3 separate regions of the Homo sapiens genome follow, and regions 2 and 3 are each linked to region 1. The links are contacts of gene promoters, found by promoter capture Hi-C in blood cells and fetal thymus (Javierre and others, 2016). All regions are on one chromosome and are shown on one strand. The core of a region is centred on a gene start or on the middle of the fragment in contact, and the rest is flanking DNA. Distances in the headings are between cores, read along the strand shown. Region 1 holds the start of GCC2 (GRIP and coiled-coil domain containing 2). Region 2 has its middle 51 kb from the start of SLC5A7. Region 3 has its middle 39 kb from the start of EDAR.

The links. Contacts are between HindIII fragments. The CHiCAGO score rates a contact against its expected background, and 5 or more counts as called.
Region 2: a fragment that was not itself captured here is called in contact with the fragment with the promoter of GCC2 in region 1 in 1 of 17 cell types (M0 macrophages); the score reaches 5.2 in M0 macrophages.
Region 3: a contact is called between a fragment that was not itself captured here and the fragment with the promoter of GCC2 in region 1, in 1 of 17 cell types (fetal thymus). The highest score is 5.0, in fetal thymus.

Annotation. Positions count from the first base shown.
Region 1 is chr2:108,447,902-108,451,014 of GRCh38, reverse strand. GCC2 (GRIP and coiled-coil domain containing 2) reads right to left here and starts at 1,809. Exons shown (of 23, transcript NM_181453.4): 1 at 1,735-1,809; 2 at 1,326-1,382. The coding sequence starts at 1,740. RefSeq lists enhancers at 1-318, 319-819, 905-1,886, 1,723-1,982, 1,887-2,869. The HindIII fragment of the contact is 5,578 bases long and covers 831-3,113 here.
Region 2 is chr2:107,933,858-107,937,290 of GRCh38, reverse strand. No RefSeq gene overlaps it. Among named protein-coding and RNA genes, the nearest start is that of SLC5A7, 51 kb to the left of the region's middle. The HindIII fragment of the contact is 3,340 bases long and covers 1-3,315 here.
Region 3 is chr2:109,026,181-109,029,575 of GRCh38, reverse strand. It overlaps a transcript of RANBP2 not described here. Among named protein-coding and RNA genes, the nearest start is that of EDAR, 39 kb to the right of the region's middle. The HindIII fragment of the contact is 7,284 bases long and covers 1-3,395 here.

The DNA.
Region 1 (3,113 bases), core at 560-3,059:
TCATGTTACCAACTTGTTATAACTCATGTTTCTAGTATACCACAAAAAAGAAACAATGTCTGCTAGAAAACAAAAACATTCTACAGAATAAATCTTTATGCCAACCGCATACTTTGTTCCACATTTTTTTTTTGAGACAGAGTCTCGCTCTATTGCCCAGGCCGGAGTGCATGACACGATCTTGGCTCACTTGTAACCTCTGCCTCCCAAGTTCAAGCAATTCTCCTGTCTCAGCCTCCCAAATAGCTGGGATCATAGGCGCCCGCTACCACGTCCGGCTAATTTTTGTATTTTTAGTAGAGACGGGGTTTCACCATGTTGGCCAGGCTGGTCTCAAACTCCTGACCGCAGGTGATCTGCCCGCCTCGGCCTCCCAAAGTGTTGGGATTACAGGCGTGACCCACCGCGCCCGGCCACATTTTTTAAAATCAGCAAATGCAACGTCAATTCTGTAATTGCTATGCAACTACTAAAAATTAGTTATGCAACTACTATGAAACGTAAAAACCAGGCCATATCCTCTTATAGCTAATGTTACAGGTTGACATTGCTAGCTTTTGATTTAATTGTAAAATCAGTAGGTTGGAGCTAATGCTACTTAAAATTCCTTGGAGCTGTAAAATTATTTCATTCTATTCAAGGCTGCAAGTCTTTGGTCACAAGAAAATTTACGCATAATTACAGCAGCAAGATGAACCGGGTAACATTCAGGCTTTAATTAAAAAATTGAGCTTTACCACTTGAGAAAATTGCTTAAGCCTGTGGTCTCAGGTTTCTCATCTGTAAAAGGAGGGTAACAACAGTACCTATCTCATGGTTATCATGAAGCTTAAACGAAGGAACTGAGTGGTTAGGCAAGCGCCAGAAATTTAGCATGCACACAATAAACCTTAGCAATAAACCACTATCATTTAGAATGATTGAATGTTAAACATTGTACAGGGCCATAAAACTGGACTAATTAAACTCTTTGGCAATGTAGAAACTGGAGCCCACAGATCAGAATCCCTTGATTCCTACCCTATGTCACTGCTCCTTCCACTACACCACTATATAAACCTTCTTAGACTGCTTTATGTTCGAAAAATAGCAGGATCTCCCAGCAGTGCTAACCAGGAGCAGGAAGCAAACAAAAAGTCTTTCTATATCGGGGTGGGCGGGGGAGAAACAGGAAATGGGCGATTGCGCACACTAAAATTGAGATCCCTTGGAGCAAGGCTATTAAAAAAAAAAAAATCAGCGCCCCCCCCTTCCCCATGCCAAAGTTTTCCAATTCATCACCCTTCCACTCTTCAGGAAGCCCGCTATTCAAGTATTCTCTTCACCTTAGATTTCCCGGTCCCAGGGGTAGCTGGTGAAGCCACCCCATCTTGAACAAGATCCTGCAAAACAAAATCAAACCCAGGTGTCAGAAGAACTCTTTTCCTAATTCCACACGGAACGCGTAGAACCCTTACAGGGAAAAACCTTCTATGGAATCAAGTGGTGGAAAGCCTCGTGAGACAGAGAATGAGGGCGGACGGAGGCGGTCGCTGTGGCAATTCGTACACAAACGGGCTCTACGGGGCAGGTAACCCCCAGGGATAGAGTTTACGAAAGATGGGGAGGCGACAGCAGCGCGGGCTTCGGGACACCAAGAGGGAGACTACCGCGCCCTCCCATCGGGCCCACTCCCACATCCCAAATCGCGGCGCGGAAGGCTTGATGGGAGGCAGTGGGCCCGACCTGAGTTACCTCCATCTCCGCCAGCCCGCCGCCGGCCCGCAACCAGCCGCCGCCACCGCTGCACTTCTGTTTGCGCCAGCCTCTGACGTAGGCTCTACTGCAGGTCAAAGGTCGCGCTCTCCGGGCGGCCCGCCCCCCACGTCTCCATAGCTACAGCTCGGCAGCACTTCCGCTTCCGTGTCTGCGTCCGGGAGAAGGTTCCCCGTACGGCGCTAAGGGCGGAGTCCGTCTAGACGTTCTACCTGGGGCTCGACCCCTGGGCCTGCAGGTCACGGAGTAGGTGTGGGTCCCGCCACTGCCGGTTATTGGCATGGGAAGGCGGGCCGATTACCCCTTGGGGCCTCGGGCCTCGGTTTCCACGTCTGTAAAATCTTGTGAGAGTGAGGAACATTGGATTGCAGGACAGGTCTCTCAGTCCTCCAAAGGTGTCCGCTAGCCTGCGAGTGCCTGCGGGACCCACAGCTGGTTCCGGGGGGCTCCTTAGGCATTTGTGGCCAGCATGGTGCCCGGGAGCTCCGTGACTCACAGGTCAGGGATGCGGTAGAGGGCTTCCCTGAGGAGGCATTTCTTGACTCTGGAGGCTGTGAGGAGGTCCCTGGACAGCTCTGCCCTGCAGCCGCCCGGTACTGATGGTGATGTGGTGGAGGCAAGATAGTCGGCCAGGGAACTGGGCAGCCGTGGGAGGAGACTCTGTAGAGTAGGGGGCCCGAGGCCACCCTTTCCCGAAGGGCACGCCAGAGAATCTGTGGTCGAATCCCAGAGCTGCTGCTGTGTCCTGATTGGCGGTCCAGTGCTCTGAGAGCCTTTCTGTTAACTGCTGAAGTGGTTTGCTGCGCTTTCACCTTCCCATTAATGTTTTCCATACACTCCCATAACTAAGGTAACCTGAAGATAACCTAGTTTCCTGTAGTTTAAATGGTCAAAAGGTTGAAGAGGCAGCACACAGTATGTATCGAGTAAATGGTAGCTGATTATTACTAGGTAAAAGAAGTGTTATAAACGAGAAAGAACAGCTATTGTGGACATCTACTCTTTGTCTTTGACAGTGTGTATCACCTATGGTGTTTGTAGGATTGGTTCAGGGGTGGTGTGTGACCTAAGATGTACAGTCTCCACGTACAGTAACACACGTGTGTGTGTACACGTGTGTGTGTACACGTGTGTGTGTGCACGTGTGTGTGTGCACGTGTGCGCGCACGTGTGTGTGCACGTGTGTGTACACACATATATGCACACACATGTATACACACACACACACACAATCCCCAAGTATACATTGTTATTAATGGTCCAGATTAATGCCATTCAAAGTAGTTCCCCAAGTTAAGAGCAACTTACGGTAGACTCCTATTTCAATTAATAACTTGAAAAAATCACTTGCAATAAAA
Region 2 (3,433 bases), core at 396-2,895, 510 kb after region 1:
TTTGTAAGAATTTTCACATTAAATAACATGACCTTGCCATGCTAGCTCGAGTTCGTTAACTCACACAGCAGAAACATTCATGGAAACAGCTTCAAATTCCTACCAGCTCTCAGCAAGTCCTCCAGATCACCCAGTCTCATATCCTTACCCCAAAGAATGAACAAGTATACTCTGCTGACATTAAGAGAATCCCTAATTGCTCCTATGAATAGTGAATTATCAATAGGATGTAATCAAGGGGATTCTGATTTTCTAGCCACTTGTTTTAAATTGTTTGTTGGGGGAGGGGGCAAAAAAGAAAAAAGGTATCACGTCGCCCTCTGCTGGTGAACCCACATAATTAATGAAAACAGGTTAAGATTTGGGAAAGATAAAATATTTTACTACTGTTTACTAAATCAAAGGTCCTGGGTGGTTCCACTTAATTATGTGAAGATAAGTTTAAATCTTGACATAATTTTATTATATTTATTTTAAATTTTATTGCTTAGCTTTTGTATAGTCTATTTTTAATGAAAGCAAGGCCATCACAAACAACTACCCCAGGTTGGCATCGTTGGGTGTATAAAGGAAAAGAAGGTTTTTCCCATTCTGTCTCAAATCATGTGATCTGGCTTTGTAGATTAGCAAAGTCTTGAGCACTACTTGAAATTGACTTGAGAGACTCAGAGGTATGAAGAAAATACTTCAGCATCAACTGTCAGATAAGGCCACAAGCTCTCTTAGTAACAGCAACACAGTATGAATTTAGCAAATCACTTATTGTCTCTTGGTCTGTATTTTCTCATTTATAAAAAAATGAGTTAGAAGGCCTAGCAGATCTCTAGGTTTTAAAAGATTGTAAATCCATAGTTTTTTATTTTATTTTATTTATTTATTTATTTATTTTTTTGAGACGGAGTCTCGCTCTGTCGCCCAGGCTGGAGTGCAGTGGTGCGATCTCGGCTCACCGCAAGCTCCACCTCCCGGGTTCACGCCAATCTTCCTGCCTCAGCTTCCCGAGTATCTGGGACTACAGGCGCCTGCCACCACGCCTGGCTAATTTTTTGTATTTTTAATAGAGACGGGGTTTCACCGTGGTCTGGATCTCCTGACCTCATGATCCTCCCGCCTCGGCCTCCAAAAGTGCTGGGATTACGGGCATGAGCCACCGCACCTGGCCCATCGTTTTCTATTTTTAAAATTTTAAGTATACATTTAATGAAAAGCGTAAGCTCCCCCCCAACTTTTTTTTTTTTGGACGGAGTCTCGCTCTGTCACCAGGCTGGAGTGCAGTGGTGCGATCTCGACTCACCGAAACCTCTGCATCTCGGGTTCAAGAGATTCTCCTGCCTCAGCCTCCCGAGTAGCTGGGATGACAGGCACGCACCACCACGCTCAGCTAATTTTCTTTTTTTTTTTCTTTTAGTAGAGATGGGATTTCACCATGTTAGCCAGGATGGTCTCGATCTCCTGGACCTCGTGATCAGCCCGCCTTGGCCTCCCAAAGTGCTGGGATTACAAGCATGACACACCGCGCCCGGCCAGCCCTCTCTTTTAAAGAACTGTTTCCCCTTTGCTCAGCCCCACTTAGAAACAGGTGGAGCAGCGTGTTCCCTTCATAAGCCACCAAGAAGACCGCAAGCTCAGACTCAGGGAGAGCAGAAGGAGGCCCATCCCATGCTCTGGGAACAAACAGTGCTGTCAGAGGGTGGGTCCCATAGAATTTTGTGAATTTGCTGGTCTCTCTCCGGTCCTGTACAGACACATTTCCTTGTGTTACCACATTGGCCTATAAGAAGCTGCCCACCTTCCTCCTGTCAAACTTTAACTCTCTAATCATCCCTTTTGAATCAATTTTCAAAAAAAATACCAAAGGTCAGTAAAAGATACCACTATCCCTCCAGGTTATCTCCCAAATACCCAGGAATCAACTGAAAATCATTCTGTCTCTCATATCTGCACCATATTGCTCTTCTGTGACCTCACTTTCTCCATCTCTGTCATCTCTCTAGTCTAAGCCACCATTGTCTTTAGCCGGAGCTCCCGAGCGGCCTCAGATCCGGTCTCTGCTTTCACTCTTGCCCTCTCCTCCGACTGTCCATTCTCCACTTATCACCAGCCAGTGTGGCTGTCTTCAGAGGTAAATCAGGCTTTGTCGTCTCCTACTTATTAACTTCCTTCAATCACTTCCACTGCACTTAAAATACACCCCAAACTCCTTATCCCCCTCTGGCCCTGCTTACTTTTCCAATCTCTCCTGATGCACCTCCCCACAATCCATGCATTCCACCCACTGACCTTCCTTCTCTCCTTCAGGCTCAGTGCTTGTCCTGGCCATACCTTTTGCAGGGGATGCCTCCCGTCCCACCTCAACTTTTTACTTGCCTGCTCCTTCTTCATGTTCAGTTCTGAACTCACGTATCAGTGCCTCAAAGAAGCTGTCTGTGACCAGCTTCTGCATGCTCCCCTCACCCTGTCCCTTTCACCTTTTAACATGTCACCCTATTTTCTAGGGCTTATTGTAAGCCAAACTCCCTGGTCAGTAAGCCACTAGTTTGTTCCCTGTCTCCCAGCTGGAAGCTCCTGGAGGGTAATAACCTTGACTCTCCAGTTTTCCTGCTGTGTTCAAGAGACCTAAAAGAGTTAAAAAAAAAAAAGTGCTCCATGTAAGCACTCAATGAGATTTTACTTGATAAAGGAATGCAGAAACAATGGAAGATACTGATCTTAGCATCCTGTGAGATTCAGAACTATTGAACTTATAATTATTGCCATTCTTGGAGGCTGACTTGGAGACTAGTCTATAAAGTCTCACTCATGTCTTCAGGTCTTTCCTGGGCACCTTATGGCAGATGGGTAGCTCATGTGTCCCTCATCTAGGGAAACTCCCTGTGTTTTTCCCCGCTGTTCCCTCTCCACCTGTGTTTTCTCTTCTGTGTGTTTTCATATCCACTGTGTTTACTTTTTATCTTCTATCTTATTACATAGTATTGCTATTAATGAAATATATTTGTGACTTCTCTGCTAGACTGAATGTCTTGGTAGTAAAGGTCACTTTTAATTTGTTTCTGAAGGCTTAGGAAAGCCTCTGTACAATATATATGACAGATAAATGGTGCGTAAGTAAATGTGAAAGTGTACTAAAAATCAGAATCATGGTGTTTCTCAATGACAGTATGGCAGGACGTATAACACGGAATGCCCTTGAATAATTTGAAGACTATCACAGTTTATAAACAAAGTTAATGTGTAAAGCCATGGCACATGATAACTGTAATTAAATAACACTGAAATATTATTTGATGCTATCAACATCTCTACCCCTAGCAAGCTTTTCCGTCTTGTTTTGCTGTAGACCTCCACCCTTATCTCCATGATGCCACTGTAATCTCTGATTCTGTGCTGGGAAACCCATCCTTTTAAGGTGCTTATAATTGAGAGCTTGTAAACA
Region 3 (3,395 bases), core at 123-2,622, 580 kb before region 1:
CACATGCTGCAGAATCTCCTCTTTCCCCTCATTGAGAGGACCAGGTTTTCCCTTGGAAACGGACAGACACACACTGAGCTGCTGCTTCCCAGGAGGGCTGAGGCACCCTTCAATAACTTCAGGCATCAGTGTCAGCCACATCATGGTTTCCCACCTCCAGATTCCCATGCCTTCCTTACCCTAATGAAGTTTCTCCCATTTACACATGGTCCCTCATCATCCCTCTCCTGGATGCTTTACTAGCTTTATGGAAGGAACTTGGAGGAGTGGCCAAGGCAGAACCCAGCAGCTGCGGCCATGGGGGTGAATGGGGGCTGGGATGGGGAGGGACTCCATAGACTCAGTGTTGACATGAAGGAGGAAAGGGCCCAGGTGTCCTATTAACAGTAATAACAATAATCTTGCCTTAAACCTTATTTATTTATTTATTTATTTTATTTATTTTTGTAGTTTAGAATGAGGTGAGGGCTAAAGAAATAAACAATCACATAGGCCGGGCACAGTGCCTCACGCCTGTAATCCCAGCACTTTAGGAGGCTGAGGTGGGAAGATTGCTTGAGCCCAGGAGTTTGAGACCAGCCTGGGCAATATGGCAAAATCCTGTCTCTACTAAATAAATAAATAAATAAACAAACAAATAAATAAATAAACAATCACAACTAAAGTCGTGACAGCCAGATTCACACATGCATTCTCAGTTGGCCCTCACAGTCCCTGACAGCCACACAGATCCTGAGAGTGTGAGGCTGCTCTGGAAGACAGGAGTGGGGCTTAGACCCGATGACCTCTAAGCTCTGTTCTGCTGCTTTAGGTCCAGGGTCAAGGTGTAGGAGGGGCAAGATATGTGTGGGGGAAGGGCAAGAACCGGGCCTACTGACTTAAGCTACTCATTTGGGTGCATGTCTGCCACCCTCGGAGGGCCTGTGGAATAGGTCAGAGCACTCCTCTAAGTGAGGGCTGTTGGGATCGGATGCTTAGGGCACAGCAGAGGAGATTGAAACAGCATTCAGCACTGTCCAGATGTTGATGCAAGGACTGTCACCCTCAAATACAGTGTGTCAGCCACCATGAGCCACTGTGCAGGAGGGCCTGAGGGTGGCGTGTGGAGACAGGCCTCCCAGCAACGGGGAAGCCAGGGTGCAGCAGCAGGGCCTACCTTCTTGGTGTAAGGCTCTTCCTTCAGTGGAGGTAAGGGCCGTGGCCCAGCATGCACTTTGTACTTTCCATTAGCCCTGAGGCTCAGGTGTCAATTATGGTTTAGCATTTAAAATCGAACAATATGTTTTTATTTTATTTATTTCTTTTGAGACAGGGTCTCACTCTGTCACCCAGAGTGGAGTGCAGTGGCATGATCATGGCTCACTGCAGCCTCAACGTCCTGGGTTCAGGTGATCCACCCACCTCAGCCTCCTGAGTAGTGGAGACTACAGGTGTATGTCACCTGGCCCAGGTAATTTTTTGCATTTTTTGTAGAGACAGGGTTTCACCATGTTGCCCAGGTTGGTCTCAAACTCCTGGGCTCAAGATGTCTGCCTGTCTTGGCCCCCCAGTGTGCTGGAATTACAGGCGTGAGCCACCTCACCCTGCCAGTATGTTTTTAAACAGTACCAGGAAAGCCTTGAGCTCTTCCCTGCCTCAGCAGGACACATGCATTAACTGGCAGAGCCCAGTGCTCCCTCTGAGGATGGATCTGTGAGTAGCAGCTCTGGGAGAGACAGAAGTAGGGGACTGGCAGGGACTCAGAGCCTGCAGGGAGAAGGAAGACGCATGGCGGGGAGGCCAGCATGCCAGGCTGCAGAGCTGCCGCCCACCCACCCCGCCCACTCCTGGAGCCCAGGCCCTCATCAACTCTAGGTCTTGCTCCTGGCCTAGGTCCTGCTGAGTCCCCATAGTCATAACGACGCTTACGCAGCACTGCTTCCTTCCAGATACTTTGTCCACGTCAGTGCCCAATAACCCTGTGAGGTCTGTCACCACTTACAGGAGGGGAGCTGAGGCCCAGGAGGGCTTAGGCCCTGCCCAGGGTATCATAAACAGAGGGTGGATGGACATGCCAGGCTCAGAGCCTGTGCCTTCATGTCAGGCTCCACAGGCTTCCTTGGCTCCATGCTGCCTTCAAAAGAGGAAAGTTACTTTTGTCTTCAAAATCCAGTCTTTCCTTATGGCTTCAAAAGCTCTTCCCTTGAAGACTCCACAAAGGAACAAGATGTCTGGGGTCTGGCTGGGCCCAGGAGACCTCTGCAATGCCTCCAAGATGAGGCTAGTCCCCCAGGAGACCCACCCTCCTTCAAGAAGTCTTCAGAGGTCCTTGTTTTTTTTTTTTTTTTTTTTTTGAGACAGAGCCTCACTCTGTTGCCCAGGCTGGAGTGCAGTGGTGCAAATCTTGGCTCACTGCAACCTCCGCCTCCAGGATTCTAGTGATTCTCCTGCCTCAGCCTCCCAAGTAGCTGCTATTACAGGTGCGAACCACCACGCTCAACTAATTTTTGTATTTCTAGTAGAGATGGGATTTCACCACGCACCAAGCTGGTTTTAAAATCCTGACCTCAAGTGATCTGCCCACTTTGGCCTCCCAGAGTGCTGCAATTACAGGTGTGAGCCACCACACCCGGCCAATGTCTTCAGAGGTTCTTTTTTATTTTTTGAGACGCCCACCACCATGCCTGGCTAATTTTTTGTATTTTTAGTAGAGACGGGGTTTCACCACATTAGCCAGAATGGTGACCTCGTGATCCACCACCTTGGCCTCCCAAAGTGCTGGGATTACAGGCGTGAGCCACTGCACCCGGCCACTTCTAATGATTTTTAAGAAGTATTTGGCAGCTCTGAATTGGCAAGTGTGGAAATAAGACTGAGAGGAGCAGCTGTTTCTAAAAGATCATTTTGAGCTTTTTCCCCACCTAGAGGGTGCCGAGCAATCAGGATGTGAGGGGCACAGTCTGGGCTGCTGCTTTCCCCACTTGAATACATGACATATCCAGTGTATCCTACACTAACGGTGCTTCCTCACCTTAGAGCTGGGAGCTCATGACTGCATAGCCAGCCTTTGGTCCCCTTGCTTCAGAGGGAAGAGGGGCCCAAGGGACAGGCAATACCTCAGACACACTCTTCTAAAAGCAAAAACGGTGGCCATTAAAATAATGCGCTGTCCAGGTGTGATGGCTCTTATCTATTGTCCCAGCACTTTGGGAGGCAGAAGCAGGAAGATCGCTTGAGCCTAGGAGTTCAGGACCAGCCTGAGCAACATAGCAAGACCCCATCTCTTAAAAAAAAAAAAAGCTAGGCATGGTGGTATGAGCCTATAGTCCCAGCTACTCTGGAGGCTGAAGCAGGAAGATTGTTGAGCCCAGGAGCTCAGGTGACCTACAATCATGCCACTGCACTCCAGCCTGGGT